Regions from separate parts of the Homo sapiens genome. Here all the other regions are linked to region 3. Evidence: promoter capture Hi-C in 16 types of primary human blood cells and fetal thymus (Javierre and others, 2016). All regions are on one chromosome and are shown on one strand. Each heading gives the region's core, a stretch centred on a gene start or on the middle of the fragment in contact. The rest is flanking DNA. Distances are from core to core; before and after follow the strand shown. Region 1 holds the start of NASP (nuclear autoantigenic sperm protein). Region 2 has its middle 9.0 kb from the start of LINC01144. Region 3 holds the start of KIF2C (kinesin family member 2C). Region 4 has its middle 10 kb from the start of LINC01144.

The links. Contacts are between HindIII fragments. The CHiCAGO score rates a contact against its expected background, and 5 or more counts as called.
Region 1: the fragment with the promoter of NASP here is called in contact with the fragment with the promoter of KIF2C in region 3 in 7 of 17 cell types (non-activated CD4 T cells, naive CD8 T cells, neutrophils and 4 more); the score reaches 11.0 in non-activated CD4 T cells.
Region 2: a fragment that was not itself captured here is called in contact with the fragment with the promoter of KIF2C in region 3 in 1 of 17 cell types (naive CD8 T cells); the score reaches 5.2 in naive CD8 T cells.
Region 4: a contact is called between a fragment that was not itself captured here and the fragment with the promoter of KIF2C in region 3, in 5 of 17 cell types (total B cells, activated CD4 T cells, naive B cells and 2 more). The highest score is 8.0, in total B cells.

What each region holds. Positions count from the first base shown.
Region 1 is chr1:45,582,769-45,585,468 of GRCh38, reverse strand. It overlaps NASP (nuclear autoantigenic sperm protein), which reads right to left and starts at 1,428. Exons shown (of 15, transcript NM_002482.4): 1 at 1,264-1,428. The coding sequence starts at 1,322. RefSeq lists silencers at 733-1,032, 1,943-2,002 and enhancers at 1,533-1,842, 2,293-2,352. The HindIII fragment of the contact is 9,802 bases long and covers 1,246-2,700 here.
Region 2 is chr1:45,311,610-45,314,309 of GRCh38, reverse strand. No RefSeq gene overlaps it. Among named protein-coding and RNA genes, the nearest start is that of LINC01144, 9.0 kb to the right of the region's middle. The HindIII fragment of the contact is 4,516 bases long and covers 1-2,700 here.
Region 3 is chr1:44,738,378-44,741,093 of GRCh38, reverse strand. KIF2C (kinesin family member 2C) reads right to left here and starts at 1,257. Exons shown (of 21, transcript NM_006845.4): 1 at 1,092-1,257; 2 at 87-181. The coding sequence starts at 1,161. RefSeq lists an enhancer at 1,437-1,606. The HindIII fragment of the contact is 10,096 bases long and covers 1-2,716 here.
Region 4 is chr1:45,292,155-45,294,954 of GRCh38, reverse strand. No RefSeq gene overlaps it. Among named protein-coding and RNA genes, the nearest start is that of LINC01144, 10 kb to the left of the region's middle. The HindIII fragment of the contact is 1,469 bases long and covers 577-2,045 here.

The DNA of each region.
Region 1 (2,700 bases), core at 179-2,678, 840 kb before region 3:
GGGTGACTTGAGAACCACTGCTCTACAAGAACGCAGAGAGAAAAGGTGGTAAGCAGAGATATACGTAAATCTCTAACTATAAACAAACAAAGACATAATCATGACAGAGTGTAAGCCTATAGAATATCAATTTAAAAAACTTCACAGCAACCATTCCTTTTACAGGGAAGGCAACTAACCTCTAAAGCGCACAAGATTAGAAAAAAAAATAGAACCAGATGCCTAAAAAAATATGGCAAGATTGGGAAATCAGACCTACTGTATGGGAAACAGCACTTGTTTCCTTGAACTCGTGTAGTGTTTCCCTCCACTGTTCAAAAAACAGATTACGCCTGAGTGGCACTGTGCCGCTTTCAAAACAATCCTATCTTGTTTCCCTCCAGTCCTTCTCCACTTCGTGCATACTACTGCCGATTCACCTAGCAACCAAACAGTGCTGGTGAGAGCTCCAGACAGCGCTTCCTGAAGACGCTTTACGTCCGGTAATGTTCCCCCCAAACAGACACCACCTCCAAAGTCTAAAGAACGACAATCCTCCCCACCACAGGCAGGGGCTCACGGAGTCGCGGGGAGCGATAACTATCTCCCAGCACAAGACGTGAGCGAGGTGTCGGGGGGAACTAGCCTCGCCGGCCCCACGGAGATAGTCCAAAGCTCCTGCTGGAGCCGCAGCGGCCCCAAACAATGGAGTTTTCCCGCCTCCTCAAGGCCCCGCCCCCTGCCCCAGGGCCGGCGAGGGAAGCGAACGCACGCGCGCAAAACCCCGCCCTCAGCAAGGCCCCGCCCACCCCGACCCCTCAGGTCCAGCCTCCTTCCTCGTGCAAGGTTTTTTTTCCCTTTTGGCGCCAAATCTTCGTTGGTTATATTCCCGGGTTATCCAGGGGTTCTACCAGAGGCACACGCTGGGGACAGAAGGGGCGTGAAGGCCAACCCGCGCGCCAGGGCCCCGCCTCCCGGCCAACCGCCCCGGGCTGGGGGAGGAAGGAGAGGGGCAGGCGAAGGATACAGCCGCCGCTGCCCCCGGCAAGATGGCGGCCGCGAAAAGCGGGGCAGGGGGCGCCAGCCGACCGCCGTTACCGCTGCTGCGCGAGGCTCTCAGCAAAAGAAGGACTGCTCCAGTGACCAGGCCTTCCCGAACAGCGACAGCTGCTCTTGGGAAGGCAAGTACTCCCGCCCACCGGTCTGCCCCTTCTCCGGAGCCCCCGTCCATTAGCCCTCCCCGCGGACTGGCCAGTGCCTTAAGCTTTCCACAGTCCCGCTTACTTGTCGGCAGAAACCAGCTCCGCGGCGACGGCGGCAGTGGCTGTGGACTCCATGGCCATCGTTCCCCTGAGGTGGCGAACCAGCGAACGGAATAGAGCCTGCGAGAAAAACAGGCAATTTGGGACGCCAGAGACTCACTCAGGGACAGAAAATGGCAGATTAGAGACCCCGCGCGGCCGGGGCCCTTTTATATACGAGGACCCTTCGCCCCGCCCATCCACTTCCGGATCCTCCCCCTCGGGTTTAAAGGGCCAGGACTCACCACCCATACCCTCCGTCCCCCGCCGGCCTACCACTATCTAGACACCTCCTGCCCTCTCCATATGGCTCCGCGGGATTGTTTCCCTCCCTAGCCCGACTTCTCCAATAAACAGCAACTTCCTGCTTCTCCAGCAAGTCGCATAAGAAGAACTGGAATCTTGACACTACAACTCCTGACAGGACGCCCCTGCGGCATCCAGAGACAGGGAAGCCAGTGCTGCTCTGCATGTTCAGGGCGAGTAGCTGAGAGTCTCCTTCCGGCCTGGATACTGAGGAAGGTGACTTAGACTTTCTCTCCGTCCTCTGAGTCGTAACGGACGGACACGCAAGGGCCGAGGACGGGTACAAGCAGCAGCGACTAGAACTGATCTGGGTGAGATCTAGGCCTCAGCAACAACTGACGCAAAAAGATTTTGTTCTAGGATTGGCTACAGCTGAAACTACCGCGCTTGATTCAAAGCTCGGGGCTTGCAGCGGGAGGCAGCTGGCTCCTCCCTCTGAACCCGCCCCCTTTGGCTGGCCCAATCCGCTGATCCCATCCTCTTAGGCCCTGCCCAGACTCCAAATCTACCAGAATTAATGCTCCCAGCGCTGTTTGTCCACTCCTGCCTATGATTTGCTGTGTGACTACTACTCGTGGGGGTACCGTGATTAGACGCTTTAAAGCTATTAGCTATCTTGTTTAATATTAACAATGCTACTAGTGAGATCAGTGTTAGTCTGTTTCTTAGAAAAATAAACCAAGGGGCCGGACGCGGTGGCTCACGCCTGTAATCCCAGCACTTTGGGAGGCCTAGGCTGGTGGATCACGAGGTCAGGAGTTCAAGACCAGCCTGGCCAAGATGGTGAGACCCCCCCGTCTCTACTAAAAAATACAAAAATTAGCCGGGCGTGGTGGCGGGCGCCTGTAATCCCAGCTACTCGGGAGGCTGAGGTAGGAGAATACTAGAACCCGGAAGGCAGAGGTTGCAGTGAGCCGAGAGCTCGCCACTGCACTCCAGCCTGGGCAACAGAGCGAAACTCCGTCTCAAAAATAAATAAATAAATAGGCCAAGGTTCCAACCTGGCCAACATGGTGAAACCCCGTCTCTACTAAAAATACGAAAATTAGCCAGGTGTGGTGGCAGGCTCCTGTAATCCCAGCTACTCGGGAGGCTAAGGCAGGAGAATCACTTG
Region 2 (2,700 bases), core at 192-2,691, 570 kb before region 3:
TAGATATTTCATTATTTGGGTATTTTCAAATAAAATATATATTGTAGGAAAACATTCTTGCTAAAAAAAAGTGAATTCACCTTTAAAAAAGGTGAATCATTTTTGTCTACTTCAAAGATTATTTATGTATGAAACAAGATAGGAAGTTATAAAAACAAAGAGGTTTGGCCAGGCACAGTGGCTCACATCTGTAATCCCAGCACTTTGGGAGGCCGAGGCGGGTGGATCACCTGAGGTCAGGAGTTCAAGACCAGCCTGGCCAACATGGTGAAACCCTGTCTCTACTAAAATACAAAAATTAGCTGGACATGATGGTGGGTGCCTGTAATCACCGCCACTCGGGAGGCTGAGATGGGAGAATCGCTTGAATCCAGGAGATGGTGGTTGCAGTGAGCCAAGATCATGCCACTGCACTCCAGCCTGGGTGGCTGAGTGAGACATTGTCTCAAAATAAATAAATAAATAAATAGGCCGGGCCTGGTGGCTCACGCCTGTAATCCCAAAACTTTGGGAGGCCGAGGCGGGCAGATCACGAGGTCAGGAGATCGAGACCATCCTGGCGAACACGGTGAAACCCCGTCTCTACTAAAAATACAAAAAATTAGCAGGGCGTGGTGGTGGGCGCCTGTAGTCCCAGCTACTCGGGAGGCTGAGGCAGGAGAATGACGTGAACCTGGGAGGCGGAGCTTGCAGTGAGCTGAGATAGCGCCACTGCACTGGGGCCTGGGCGAAAAGAGCGAGACTGCGTCTCAAAAAAAAAATAAGGCCAGGTGGCCAGGTGCAGTGGCTCATGCCTGTAATCCTAGCACTTAGGGAGGCCGAGGTGGGTGGATTACCTGAAGTCAGGAGTTCAAGACCAGCCTGACCAACAAGGTGAAACCCCATCTCTACTAAAAATACAAAAATTAGCCAGGCATGGTGGCGCGCACCTGTAATCCCAGCTACTTCGGAGGCTGAGGCAGGAGAATCACTTGAACCCAGGAGGAGGAGGCTGCAGTGAACCAAGATGGCACCATTGCACTCCAGCCTGGGCAACAGAGTGGGACTCCATCTCAAAAATAAATAAATTAATTAATTAATTAAAATAAAAACCCTAAATAAATAGGTTGTTTTTTTTTTGCCAGGCAGCTTAGGGAGAAGTAATTTCATATGAGAAAGAGAAATTTCATATGAGAAAATGACTAGTTGTTTAAGAAGGAGGGATGTTCAGGACAAACCAGAAACTCCAAGCATATCATGAACAGTCTGAAATTTAAGTTGTCTGGCTTCAGTTCATAGGGCTTTAAGAAAGCACAGCTTAGTTTTCAGTGACTCCAAATTAGGAAAAATGGGGGAAAAAAAGGAGAAAAAAATAAAAACATCATTTTGAAGACTTGTAGCCAAGAAAATATTAGAATTCGGTCCAGACTGTAGAAAATAATGAAAATTGGGCTGGGCACACTGGCTCACACCTGTAATCCCAGCACTTTGGGAGGCTAAGGCAGGCGGATCACCTGAGGTCAGGAGTTGGAGACCAGCCTGACCAACATGGAGAAACCCCATCTCTACTAAAAATACAAGATTAGCTGGGTGTGGTGGCACATACCTATAATCCCAGCTACTCAGGAGGCTGAGGCAGGAGAATCACTTGAACCCAGGAGGCAGAGGTTGCAGTGAGCTGAGATCACACCATTATACCCCATCATGGTCAACAAGAGCAAAACTCCATCTCAAAAAAAAGCAAAAAGAAAATAAAAATTGAAAAAACATTAGGCAAGACTAGAATCTAACAGCAGGTGTACTGTAGCTCCAAAACATAATTTTTCTCTCTCCAGGTTCCCATTTTTACTAAAGACAAATCATCGTAGGACTGGCTTGCTTTATTATACTTGTCATAATCATTTGTATAAAGTGCAGCAAGAATAATTTTTTTTACATAAACTTTTATTTATTTATTTAATTTTATTTTTTGAGATGGAGTTTTGCTCCTGTTGCCAAGGCTGGAGTATAATGGCATTATCTCGGCTCACTGCAACTTCAGCCTCCCAGGTTCAAGCAATTCTCCTCCCTCAGCCTCCTGAGTAGCTGGGATTACAGAACGCCACCAACACGCCCAGCTAATTTTTTGTATTTTTAGTAGAGATGGGGTTTTACCATGTTGGCCAGGCTGGTCTTGAACTCCTGACCTCAGGTGATCCACCCACCTCAGCCTCCCAAAGTGCTGGGATTACAGGTGTGACCCACCGTGTCCACCATACATAGGCTTTTAAATTGGCTTTGATGGAACTTCATTACATAAGAGGAATCTCAGAAAAGACTTTTTAAAAGTCGAGCCCAGCCATGGATTTGTGCCATGAAATATCTGTGAGTTGGGTGAATTTCCTCTCCTCTTGAGGTTCCAAGATAAACCTGGGGCTTCTGGGCCTGTCAGAATGTGACGTTATTTACTTACCACACATCAGAAACCCTGCATAGGGACTGTATACACAAAATATGATGCCAGTTTTCCCAAGGGCTTTATTGGCTCCGTAAGTCAGGTTTGATTTCTCAAAGGAAAGCACACTATTCCAGTCAAAGCCTTGGTTAAATAACCAGTTTCTCCAATTGTGTCCTGTTACAAATGAAAACGGATTCTTTTTTTGTTTTTTTAGATGGAGTCTCACTCTGTCTCCCAGGCTGGAGTGCAATGGCATGATCTCATTTGATTTCAACCTCTGCCTC
Region 3 (2,716 bases), core at 8-2,507:
ACTAGGCTCTCACAGATTCCACTTCTGCACAGATCCTTTATGTAGGAAGACATTAAATGTGGTAGAGGAATTCTCATAGAACCTACCTCTTTGCCCTTTGTGGCACCTCCTTCTGCCCATTCCACTGAAACACAGGATTTCTCCAAGTTCACAGTCCTTACATTGGCACTGTGAATTAAACCTATAAAGTATGAAAAAACCAGAGTTACCCATCTCTTTCCTGAGAGCTTCACTTTTAGGATTCCACAGAGATTCCCAAAGTGGAGTTAACCTGAAGGAACAGGCAGCTACCTTAAAAAAAAAAAAAAAAAAAACTAAGAGAAACAAATAAATCTCCTGGGCTTCACCTTTAGAATATCCACAGTGAGGTGGGCTGGGGACAGGTTTTTAAACTGAGCTGCATGGGATAAGGATTCACCCCTACTCAAGAGAGCCTACAAAAAAAGAGAGATAGAGCCTACAAAAGAGAACATACAAAAGGTATGTTTGAGCACAGGATTCCCCACAACCCTTAGATGAACTTTTCCTCAACATAGCATTGAGGATCTGGCCCTTTTGGGGTTTTCCTAACTCATTTCTGGCGGTCATATCTGTCCATTTCCCTAATGACACGGGTATCAGACCTGCCAGAACTGCGGTACCTGCTTAAGCAAAAGAGAGAACGACTACAAGCTCCTCAAGCGCAGGGTTCTTGTCTGTCCCGTTTACCTGACATACCGCAACTGCGCAATATTTATTCGAGAGTAAAGGGGCCAGGAGACCGAGGTCCCCATAAGAGCAGGGCATTTTCAGGGGAGAATTTTGGAAGGGAAGTGAATTTAGAAGTCCCAACTTCCCTGGGAGGTCTACCAGCCTTGGAGAAGGTCCGCCCACTCCCAGAGGACTGCGAAAGGGACCACGTACAGCGCAGGGACTCTCACCCCTGTGTAGGCAAGAATGACTGCCAGTGCAGAGACCCGGAGTGAGTGCGTGTGAAAAGGAGGGAGGGAGAGAAAGAGAGTGAAAGCCCATCTGTGTGTCCGGGGACGGGCAGTAATTTCAGTCGTCTCACCGCTCACGAGTCCCCTTGACCTAGGGACCCCGCTCCTCACCATTACTGCGTTGGATCTTGATAGCGAGACCGGGAAACAGGCGGGCCTGAAGCGACGAGTCCATGGCCATTCGGAGAGTCAGCAAGGAAGAGAAACGCGCAATACCAAGAAACCTCAATTTCGCTAACCCTACGAAGTCTTAACGCCGCGTAAACCGCCGCAGTTTAAATCCCGCGCGCAAGCGTCCTTAAAACGTCATTCCGCTGTCCCCGCCCTCGCTTCCGCCAGTCAGCGGCGCCCTGCGGAGCCTTGGGGGAGACGCAGTTCCCAACCATCTTCCTACGCTTGGCACCGCCCATGCGTCTGGCCACACCCCCGAGCGCTGTGCCTTCTGGGAACTTCGCCGCTACGTGGGGTCTGGGGCTCCCATTTCTGGTATTGTCCTCGGTCACCTTGTACTGCGGGGTTCCCGAAAACTGGGAAACTTCAGTATGTATTTGACAATGAGGGCTCTGGGATCCTACAGACATGGGTTCGAATCGTAGCTTCTTCAATTGCAAGTTCAGTGACCTCGAGCAAGTTGGAGACTTGGCCGGGCGCGGTGGCTCACTCCTGTTAATCCCAACACTTAGGAAGGGAGAGGTGGGAGTGATCGCTCGAGATCAGAAGTTCGAGACCAGACAGGGCAACATAGCCAAGACCCTGTTCTCAAAGCAAAACAAAACCACAGATTAGAAACTTGACTTAGTTTTTCTTATTAAATAGTGCAGAAGCATGTTGCCTCATTCAAGGAGTTATGTATAAATTTCCAGAAAGACACTGATTCACCAGATATTTATTGAGTGAAGTCTACCACCTGCTAGGCATGGTACCAGGAAATGGAGATAATGAACTAGACACATAGTTCCTGTCCTCCTTTTTTTTTTTTTCCATTTAACCCTTAGTGGACACAGCACATGTTTCAGAGAGCACGGGGTTGGGGGTAAGGTTATAGATTAACAGCATCCCAAGGCAAAAGAATTTTTCTTAGTACAGAACAAAATGGAGTCTCCTATGTCTACTTCTTTCTACACAGACACAGTAACAATCTGATCTCTCTTTCTTTTCCCCACATTTCCCCCTTTTCTATTCGACAAAACCGCCATCGTCATCATGGCCCGTTCTCAATGAGCTATTGGGTACACCTCCCAGATGGGGTGGCGGCGGGGCAGAGGGGCTCCTCACTTCCCAAATGGGGCAGCCGGGCAGAGGCGCCCCCCCCCCCCACCTCCCAGACAGGGCGGCGGCTGGGAGGGGGCTGCCCCCCACCTCCCAGACGGGGCGGCTGGCCGGTCGGGGGCTTTCCCCCCACCTCCTGGACGGGGCGGCTGCCGGGAGGAGACGCTCCTCATCTCCCGGACGGGGCGGCTGCCGGGCAGAGTGGCTCCTCACTTCTCAGACGGGGCGGCCAGTCAGAGACGATCCTCACCTCCCAGACAGGGTGGCGGCGGGGCAGAGACACTCCTCAGTTCCCAGACGGGGTCGCGGCGGGGCAGAGGCGCTCCCCACATCCCAGACGATGGGCGGCCGGGAAGAGACGCTCCTCACTTCCTAGACCGGGTGGCGGCCGAGCAGAGGCTGCAATCTCGGCACTTTGGGAGGCCAAGGCAGGCGGCTGGGAGGTGGAGGTTGTAGCGAGCCGAGAT
Region 4 (2,800 bases), core at 62-2,561, 550 kb before region 3:
TTTTCTTCTGATTTAAAGGGAATTGTATTAGGGTGCTCTTGCACTGCTAGAAATTCCTCCAGCCTGGGCAACATGGAGAAACCTCATCTCTACCAAAAATTACAGAAAAATAAAAAATTAGCCAGTTGTGGTGGTGTGTGCCTGTAGTCTCAGCTGCTGGGGAGGCTGAGATGGGAAGATTTCTTGAACCCAGGAGGCGGAGGTTGCAGTGAGCTGAGATTGTTCCACTGCACTCCAGCCTGAGTGACAGAGCAAAATCCTGTCTCAAAAAAAAAAAAAAAAAAAAGAAAGAAAGAAAGAAAAAGAAATACCTGAGACTGGGTGATTTGTAAGAAAGGAGTTTTGGCTGGGCATGGTGGCTCATGCCTGTAATCCTAGTACTTTGGGAGGCTGAGGCAAGAGGATCACTTGAGCCCAGGAGTTTGAGACCAGCCTGGGCAACATGGCAAGATCCCATCTCAATTATTTAAAAAAATGAAAAAGAAAAACAAAGAAAAGAGGTTGAATAGGCTCATGGTTCTGCAGGCTGTACAGGAAGCATAGTGGTATCTACTTCTGGGGAGGCCTCGGGAAGCTTCCAATCATGGTGGAAGGTGAAGGGAGAGCAGGCCCATCACATGGTGAAAGCAGGAGCAAGAAGGCGGGGTGGGGCGGGGGAGGTGCCACACACTTTTAAATGACCAGATCTTGCAAGAACTCACTCACTATTGTGAAGACAGCACCAAGAGGATGGTGCCAAACCATTCATGAGAAGTTCACCCCCATGATCCAATCACCTGCCACCAGGTCCCACCTCTAACACTGGGTATTACAATTTGACATGAGATTTGGGTGGGGACAAACATCCAAACCATATCAGGAATTAAAGCATTTTTGTCAGCCCTAAAAGTCCTGGGGCACTCATGTCTCTACTGTGCTTAGCGGATGGGCTGGTCCTGGTTACAGCTCCCAAATATGTACTCAGGCCCACACCTCTGTTTTGACCTTCGAGCTCCCATGTCCAGCTGTCTTTTGGATAGTTCCCCTTTGGTGTCTTACTCAAATCCAACATGTCTCAAGCTGAACACAGTTTCCCCCAAATCTTTTCTTTGCCCAGCATCCCCTATCTGAGTGAAACATGTACCACCCAGCTAGTTGCACCAGCCAGAAACCTGGACCTCAACCTCTCCCTCACCCTGTAGCCGTGTCCAGTCACCAAGTGCTGCCAATTTTCTCTCTTACATGGCTCTTGAAAGCATCCACTTCTTTCCATTTTCACTTCTGTCTCTACTGCTGTTGTCCTAATCCGCGTTACCAGCGTCTCTTGCTTGGATTACCACCGTCTCTTGCTGGGATTACCACCATGGACACTAATGGTCTCCCTGCCTTTCACTTGCCCTGCAATCATTTATCTACACTGTCCCAGAAGAATCTTTTCCAACTGCTTAAAACCCACTGATGACTTTACTTCATTATTTCTCTGTTTAAATCCAGCTGATGGCTTCCTGTTGCTCTTATAACAGAGATCCAAAACTTCAAGGAGGTCTCCAAGGCCTTGTCTAGCCTGGCCTCTGCCCCTCTTGCTCTGCTCTCTTACCCAGCTTCAGCTACATGATCTTCTCTCAAACACACAGGCTCCCTCCTGGCACAGGACCTTTGCACATGATACTCATCTTAGTCCGTTTGAGCTGCTATAAGAAAATACCATAGACTGGGTAGCTTATAGAACAAAAGAGCTTTATTTCTTACAGTTCTAGAGGCTGGGAACTCCAATATCAGGGTGCTGGCAAATTTGGTGTCTGGTGAGGGCCCTCTTCCTGTTCACAGATGGCGCCTTCTTCCTGTGTCCTCACATGCTGGGAGGGCACACAAGCTCCCTTGAGCTTCTTTAATATGAGCACTAATCCCATTCATGAGGAACCCTCATGATCTAATCTCTCCCAAAGCCTCCACCCCCCAATACCTTTCACCTTGGCAGTTAAAATTTTAACATATGAAACTTAAGGGACACAAACATTCAGACCATAGCAATATTCTTCTATTTTCTACTCCTTCAGCTCAAAGCTTCTCAAGGAAGCTTTCTCTAGTCTAGGTCAAGTATCATTAACTATGTGGCATTAGGCAAGTTTCTTTTATTTATTTATGTATTTAATGAGACAGGGGCCTTCCTCTGTCGCTTAGGCTGGAGCGCAATGATGCGATTGTGACTCACTTCAGCCTTGAACTCCTGGGCTTAAGTGATGCTCCTGCCTTGGCCTCCCAAGGTGTTGGGAATACAGGTGTGAGCCGCTGTGCCTGGCATAGGGAAGTTTCTTTACTGTGTGGTGCCTTCGTTTTCTCATCTGTAAAATGAAGATATAATAATGCCTAACTCACAGGTTTGTTGTGAGGATTAAATAGAATGTCACATGGGAACTGCTGTGAGGGTAGCTGGTGCAGTGCCTGCTTGCCTAGTTGTCCTGGCCCCTGGCTAGCTCTCTAGAGGGGGAAAGTGGTGGAGAGATCCCTCCCAATTAACACTAGCTGGAGATGTTGGGCTGATACAGGTTCTAAAATGTGAGGATTTCAGGGAAGAGCATCTCTACAAGGGCACAGAAGATTTCTGAGTTACCTGAGTGAAAGCAAAGAGCTAATTGTGCCAGAGAGTCATTGACAATGCCTGGGGTTGGGCTAGGGTACTCGGAGAAAGAGGTCAAGAGAACTCACAAAGGTCAGGGAGAGAGAGGAGGTGAGTGGGAGTACACCACATTTCTGTCAAATCTCTGAGTAGCCCAGAGCCCTGGAAGGAAGGGCCCTGGTTGCCACAGGGTCTCTATGTCAA